2 separate regions of the Homo sapiens genome follow, and region 2 is linked to region 1. The links are contacts of gene promoters, found by promoter capture Hi-C in blood cells and fetal thymus (Javierre and others, 2016). All regions are on one chromosome and are shown on one strand. Each heading gives the region's core, a stretch centred on a gene start or on the middle of the fragment in contact. The rest is flanking DNA. Distances are from core to core; before and after follow the strand shown.

What was found. Contacts are between HindIII fragments. The CHiCAGO score rates a contact against its expected background, and 5 or more counts as called.
Region 2: a contact is called between the fragment with the promoter of RMP24 here and the fragment with the promoter of ESCO1 in region 1, in 1 of 17 cell types (total CD4 T cells). The highest score is 5.7, in total CD4 T cells.

The regions. Positions count from the first base shown.
Region 1 is chr18:21,599,415-21,602,917 of GRCh38, forward strand. ESCO1 (establishment of sister chromatid cohesion N-acetyltransferase 1) reads right to left here and starts at 1,290. Exons shown (of 12, transcript NM_052911.3): 1 at 1,209-1,290. RefSeq lists enhancers at 996-1,515, 2,840-2,919. The HindIII fragment of the contact is 1,991 bases long and covers 275-2,265 here.
Region 2 is chr18:35,971,216-35,974,428 of GRCh38, forward strand. It overlaps RMP24 (ribonuclease MRP subunit p24), which reads left to right and starts at 1,464. Exons shown (of 5, transcript NM_031446.5): 1 at 1,464-1,590; 2 at 1,670-1,692. The coding sequence starts at 1,514. LOC105372066 (a long non-coding RNA gene) reads right to left here and starts at 1,236. Exons shown (of 4, transcript NR_188032.1): 1 at 1,183-1,236. RefSeq lists silencers at 951-1,245, 1,185-1,334 and an enhancer at 1,254-2,146. The HindIII fragment of the contact is 7,007 bases long and covers 1-2,001 here.

The sequences.
Region 1 (3,503 bases), core at 40-2,539:
GAAGACAAAGTGAATATAGCATAGTTCACTGCAACCTGGATGTTTTCAACTGAAATCTATGTTTTATCCACTTTTTTAAAAAAGCCAATGCTGGTGGGGGGACTAACCACACCTTATGCCACCAAGTAGCGCTTTTGTTTCCTGCGAAGCTTATTTATTGAGATATCGTTTTGTAATACTATCTAGATACTGTGTGCTGCGATTCCTGTTTAAAGGAATCTCATTGCAGCTAAGACTACAGAAAACATGGTTCATAGTACTTCTCAAATCGCAAAGCTTGAGCTCCTTCCTCCTCCTCTTCCTCCCTCCCCTGGTCCCCGCTGCGTCCCCATCGCCCCGGAAAATAAAGCACACGCCGGATTTTCGGACGCATCATTGAGAGGCGGAGGGAGAGGAGGTAGTCTTCGAATTGTTGGACTTGCTATCCCATTCTGCCTGTGCAAAATAAACCCCCATAGTAAAATAATCTTAACCCGTGATAAAAATCGAGGACCCAATTCTCTTTGGTTCGCCTCTCTCCATCGCTATAAACTTCACTGCGGCCCTCAATGCACTCATTTCTACTCCAGAGCCGCCCTACCTGTGCCGAGACCCCCATTTGCAGCATGAGTTACTCTATGACCTTGGGCCCGCTCCCCTCCCAAACTGAAGGCTGTAAAACCAAGACCCCACATCGCGCCCCGCAAACTGCAGAGGCCTCCAGGCTCAGGCCGGGTCAGCGGGTTGCGCCAGGAGGCGGCGAGGGACTGGCTCCGGTGAAGCGCCGGGAAGAGAAAACGCAGGGGGCGGAGACGGGGCCCGGAGCTACCTGCGGGACCAGCACTGGCGCTGCCCCGGTGCTAGCAATGGCTGCGCGCCACCTCGGGGCTCCCGGAGCCCTCGCGGCAGTGCTGGGAACTCCGGCCCTGCCCCGTCGGCGGTCACGACCCCTTATGAACTTCGACCGCCCAGCAAACAGCGGCAGGTGGTGCGCGGACACGCGAGCACGTTAGCTGCCTACCTCAAGCGACGGCGTCTTGGAGCCTAGAGCCTCCCACCTCCCTCCCAGGGGCGCGAAGAGCTGGGACCGGAGCAGTAGGAAGGGGCGTGCGAGGCAACACGCCACCGAGGGTGGAACAGGAAGAGGGAGAACTGTCCGCTCCCTGAAGGGGCTGGCAAAAGAGAGGTGAAGACACAGGCGGCGGGGACCGTCAGGGACGCTCGCGTACCTTCCTTTTGCCTGGCGGAGGGTCAGACTAGCGCCAGCGGATCGCCTCACATCCGGGTATCAGGAGACACTCAGCTGCTTCTGCTGCGGCCGCCGCCTCCCCCGCGGCGCAAACACCAAACTTCCGGCGACGACGGCGACGCCTCGCTCGTCAGATGGGAGTTACCTGTGACCGTCTTGGGTGCGCTTGCGCAACGCTCCTCTTCAGCCCTAACCGGCTCAGCTGACGTGCCCAGAAGACGAAGATGGCCGCCACGCTCACTGCGTGTCACGCAGTTTTTCACCCCGGCCCGGACGGCTGGGCGTCGAGGAAAGGCGAGCTAGTGTCCATCCTCAGCGCAGGCGCGGTGGGAGGCCTAGCGCGCGCGCCTCCGCGGGTGGTCGCCTGGCAGGGAAGTGGCGGCGCCCCCTAGCGGCGGCCGCTTGTCGTTCCTGGGGTCATCGCTTTGAGCTGAAAACCACCCAGGCCCCCAGCGGTTGTGGTTTACCTTGGAAATTTGTCGCAACTGGTTGCCATGTAGGTTTTGGCTGCTTCTGTCTGCGATGTATAATCCAAGTGCCTTTGGTCTTCCATATGAGCCAATGTAAAGAAGGAGGGTGGGGCCGGGCGCGGTGGTTCACGCCTGTAATCCCAGCACTTTGGGAAGCAGAGGCGGGTGGATCATTTGAGGTTAGGAGTTCGAGACCAGCCTGGCCAACATGGCCAACATGGTGAAACCCCGTCTCTACTAGAAATACAAAAATTAGCCGGGTGGTAGTGGCGTGCGACTGTAATCCCAGCTACTCGAGAGGCTGAGGCGGGAGAATCCCTTGAGCCTGGGAGGCGGAGGTTGTGGTGAGCTGAGACTGGGCCACTGCACTCTAGTCTGGACGAGTGAGACCCTGTCTCAAATAAAAAAAAAAGGAGGGTGCAGTCCCTACACTGCCCTCCAGCACCTCCAAAAAATGCAGGGCTTCGCCCTCTCCTTGCACACTTTCTTCCTGTGTATCAGAGTGCAAGAATCATCAGAAATTGTAAAATATTCTGCTAGACTTAGTCAGACTGAGTGTTCAGACAAAGCTTTGGCTCGCTCTTGGACGCCTCTAGAGATAGAATCCAAGATTCTATCACTAGGATTCATGGTTCCCACACTTCTTTCTTTTGTGACAGGAAGGATCTTGCTGTGTAGCCCTGGCTGGTGTGCAGTGGCACAGTAACGGCTCACTGCAGCCTCGACTTGGGCTCAAGCGATCCCACCTGCCTCAGCCTCCCTGAGAACTGCATGTATGAAGCCCACGACACCATGCCAGGCTAATTTTTTTTTTTTTTTTTGAGATGGAGTCTCACTCTTGTCACCCAGGCTAGAGTGCAATGGCACGATCTCGGCTCACTGCAACCTCCGCCTCCCAGGTTCAAGGAATTCTCCTGCCTCAGCCTCCTGAGTAGCTGGGACTACAGGTGCCTGCCACCATGCCCGGCTAATTTTTTATTTTTAGTAGAGACGGGGTTTCACCATCTTGGCCAGGCTGGTCTCGAACTTCTGACCTTGTGATCCCACCTGCCTCGGCCTCCCAAAGTGCTGGGATTACAGGCGTAAGCCACCGCGCCCGGCCGCCAGGCTAATTTTTTTATATTTTGTAGGGATAAGGTCTCACTGAGACCAGCCCAGGCTGATCTCGAACTCCTGGCCTCAAGTGATCCTCTCTTCTCTCCTTGGCTTCCCAAAGCGCTGGGACTACAGGCCTAAGCCACTGCTCCGGCTACTAGACTGCTTTTGAACATATGTTCTGTGCTACCCTTTGCTTATTTGCGGAACTGTGAGGCTAGTTCGGTACTTCTGCATTTCAGAATGGGAAGAGGTGATCATAAATGGGTTTTCCCCTTCCTGCCCTCCTTCTTTGAAGCCAAGTACAACCAAAATGTGCTCTAAGTTTGTCAAACCTGATGTTTTTCTGACAATTCATCTTCCACGAATAGTGAGCTGCCTGTCAGTTTGCGCAGGGAGATGTTATGGCTTAAAAACAAAAACGAGGCTGGGCGCAGTGGCTCACGTTTGTAATCCCAGCTGTTTGGGAGGTATTGATGGGTGAGGCCATTCTTCACATTACCATAGTTGTGTTACTTGGCAAAGACCTGTCCGCTGCTTCCACCTTCAGCTCCAGTCCCTGATACACACTTTAATGACATATGCCAAACAGCTCAAATTGGGGGCGGGGGGTGGGGCGGGGGAACAGGAGTAAACTACTGGTCTGGTTAAAAGCTGGTTATTTATCAGGAGACCTGACCTATGTTTCCCTTCATCTTCGTCTTCTGATT
Region 2 (3,213 bases), core at 214-2,713, about 14 Mb after region 1:
GAGGCAAGAGAACCCTTTAACCCAGCCCAGGAATTCAAGAATGCAGTGAACTGTGATCACACGACTGCACTCCAGCCTGAGCAACAGAGTGAGATCCCATCTCAGATAAATAAATAAAGCAGGCTAAATAAGGGTCCACTATCCAGAACATACACATTAAAAGAACCTTACAACTTATCAACAAAAAGACAACTCCAATAAAAAATGAGCAAAGAACTTAAACAGCCAAAGATACATAAATTGCCAACAAGCACATGAAAAGCTGCTCAAAAGCATCAGTAGTCAGGGAAATGTTAATCAAAACCACAATGAGATGCTACATCATACTCACTAGGAAGGCTAGATTTAAAAAAAAAAGAAAAAGAAAAGCAAATGTTGGTGAGGATACGGAGAAACTGGAACCCTCATTAAGCACAGAATTACTACATAACCCAGCAGATCTACTCTTAGGTATTATACCCCGAAGAACAGAAAAAAGGCACTCAAACAAATGCATGTACACACATGTTCACAGCGGCATTCATTCATAACAGCCAAAAAGTAGAAACAATTCAAACGTTCAACTGATGAATGGATAAACCATTGTGATACCGCCATACAATGGAATATTATTCAGCCATAACAACGAATGAAGTACTGATACGTGCTGCAAGGTGGATGAACCTGATACATTATGCTAGGTGAAGGAAGCCAGACACAAAAGGTCGTGTGTATGATTCCATTTACATGAAATGCCCAGAATAGGTAAATCCATAGAGACAGAAAGCGGACTGGTGGTTGCCAAGGCCTGGGAGGGAGAGGAGGATTGGCCGTAAGTGCTTCATGGAGTTGGCTGTCCTTCGGCGAAATATTTTGGAAATAGCAGAATGGTGCTTGCACAACATTGTAAATTTACTAAACGCCACTGAATTGTTCACCTTAAAATGGTCAATATTACGTTATGTGAATTTCACTTTAATTACAAAAAGAGAAACGCTAGCGTTTACGCAGGCGGAGGGCAGGCTGGACTGGGGACGCTCCTCCCGGCCGCCTCGTTGCTGGCAGCGCTTCCGCCCGCCGGCGCACCAGTCAGTACCGCGCCCGGCGAATGTGGAGGGCGAAGCTGCGGCAGGGCAATCACAAAAGGGCTGTCAGAGAGGAGGCGAGGCGGGAGGAAGATGGAGAGGCGGGTGGGAGCCTCACCTTTGGACTCTATCGCCACAGCCCGGTCTAGCCGCTACGCCCGAGCTCAAGTCTGACTCGAAACTCCGCTGGGTGCCTGAGAGGACCCGGCAGGCCAAGGGGTGGAACTGAGGGGGCGGGGACGCGGCGGGCGGGTGGGGCCGCCTCCCGGCTGGGCACGCCTCCAAGCCAGACTGGACGCGAAGGAAACCGGAACCTGTCTGCCTACGGTGCCTGTTTCCGGAAGCAGCTTGAGTCCGGACACCAACGACGGGGACGCTGGGAAGCCGACTTCCGGCGCCCTATTTTCTCACCTGGTTCCCGCGGCGAGCCAGCGGCAGCGGCGGCGGCGATGAGACAGAAGCACTACCTTGAGGCTGCAGCGCGGGGACTGCACGACAGCTGCCCGGGCCAAGCCCGCTACCTCCTGTAAGAGGACTGGAGGGGAAGCGGGAGGCGAGCGGGTAGGTGTTCCTTTGCTCCTCACAAGTCTCTTTCTCTTTTACAGCTGGGCCTACACTTCGTCGCACGGTAAGAAGAACGCCTGTCTCTTGTGCTTTGGGCTCTTGTCGCCCCGCTTTCCTCTGTTCCGCACAACGCTCAAATAAGGCCGATGGACTCACTTCCCTCCATAAAAACAACAACAACAAAGCCCGCATGTGTCTCGGTTTCGTGAAAAATCCAAATTCTTTAATGTGCCTTGTCTTGCTTTGTTAGCGGCATTTGACACATTGATCAGTCTTGAAATAGTTTCCTCCCTTGGCTTCTAGGTCATTACGTAGTTCACCTCTTCATTTATTACTTCTCGATTTGCTTTGCTGGTTCCTCCTAATCTCCCCAAGCTTTAAGTATTGTCGTGGCCCAGTACTCAGCCCTTGGACCTCTTTTCTAGGCACACTCGCTTCCTTGGTGACAGTTTTTCATCCAATCTCATGGCTTTTAAATACCATATACTGAGGACTTACAAATGTATATACTCAGCGCAGACCTCTCCTCTGAATTCTAGACTCATATATCCGAATGTCTTCTTGACAAATTCTTTTCAATGTCTAGTAATTCAAACTTAGCTAATATGTCCAAAACCTGAGCTTTAACCCCCAACAAGATCCTCCAGTTTTTCTCATTTCAGTAAATAATTCCATTCTTCCCTTACAGTTATTGAGCCCAAAAACCTTGGAGCTATTCTTGACTCCCTAACTCTCTCTCCTCCCCCAGGCCAGTATGCGAGCAAATCCTGTTGGCTTTAAAATGTAGCCAAAATCAGCCAGGAGCGGTGGCTCACCCCTGTAATCCCAGCACTTTGAGATGCAGAGGCGGGCGGATCATTTGAGGCCAGGAGTTCGAGACCAACCTGGCCAACATGGCGAAACGCTGTCTCTACTAAAAATACAAAAAAATTACCTGGCATGGTGGTGCACGCCTGTAATCCCAGCTACTCGAGAGGGTGAGGCATGAGAATCTCTTGAACCCGGGAGGTGGAGGTTGCAGTGAGCGGAGATGGCGCCATTGCACTCCACTCCTCACCACATCCATTGCTACTACCCTGCTCCAGGCCATCACCAGCTCTCTCCTGGATTAATAAAAGTGAAAGTCCTTTAAAAGGATTGTAAGGCCCTGTGTCATAGACCTGCATACCTCTCTGACGTACTCTTTCCTTCACGCAACTCCAGTCACACTAGGTCTCCTTGCTTTTCTGTTTCAGGGCCTTTGCAGGTACTCTTCACTCTGCCTGGGATTCTTGCCTCACATATCTGCTTTCATGTGAATCCTCCATTTCCCTCTGGTCTCTATAATATCACTCAATGAAGCTTTCCCTAGCCACCTATTTAAAATTACAGTAACTCCATCAATACTTCTATTCCCCCCTCCTATCTTACTTTTTTATTCCCAGCACTTAACATTTGACGTTGTTATATTTATTGTATGCCTCGGTGAATTGTCCTTTGTTCACTGCTGTGTCTCCAGCACTTAGAACAGTGCCTGGCATTCTTAATTGTCACTTAGTGAATATGAATGAGTTTCACATTTGGCAGAGCTAAGTTTAAGTGTGGT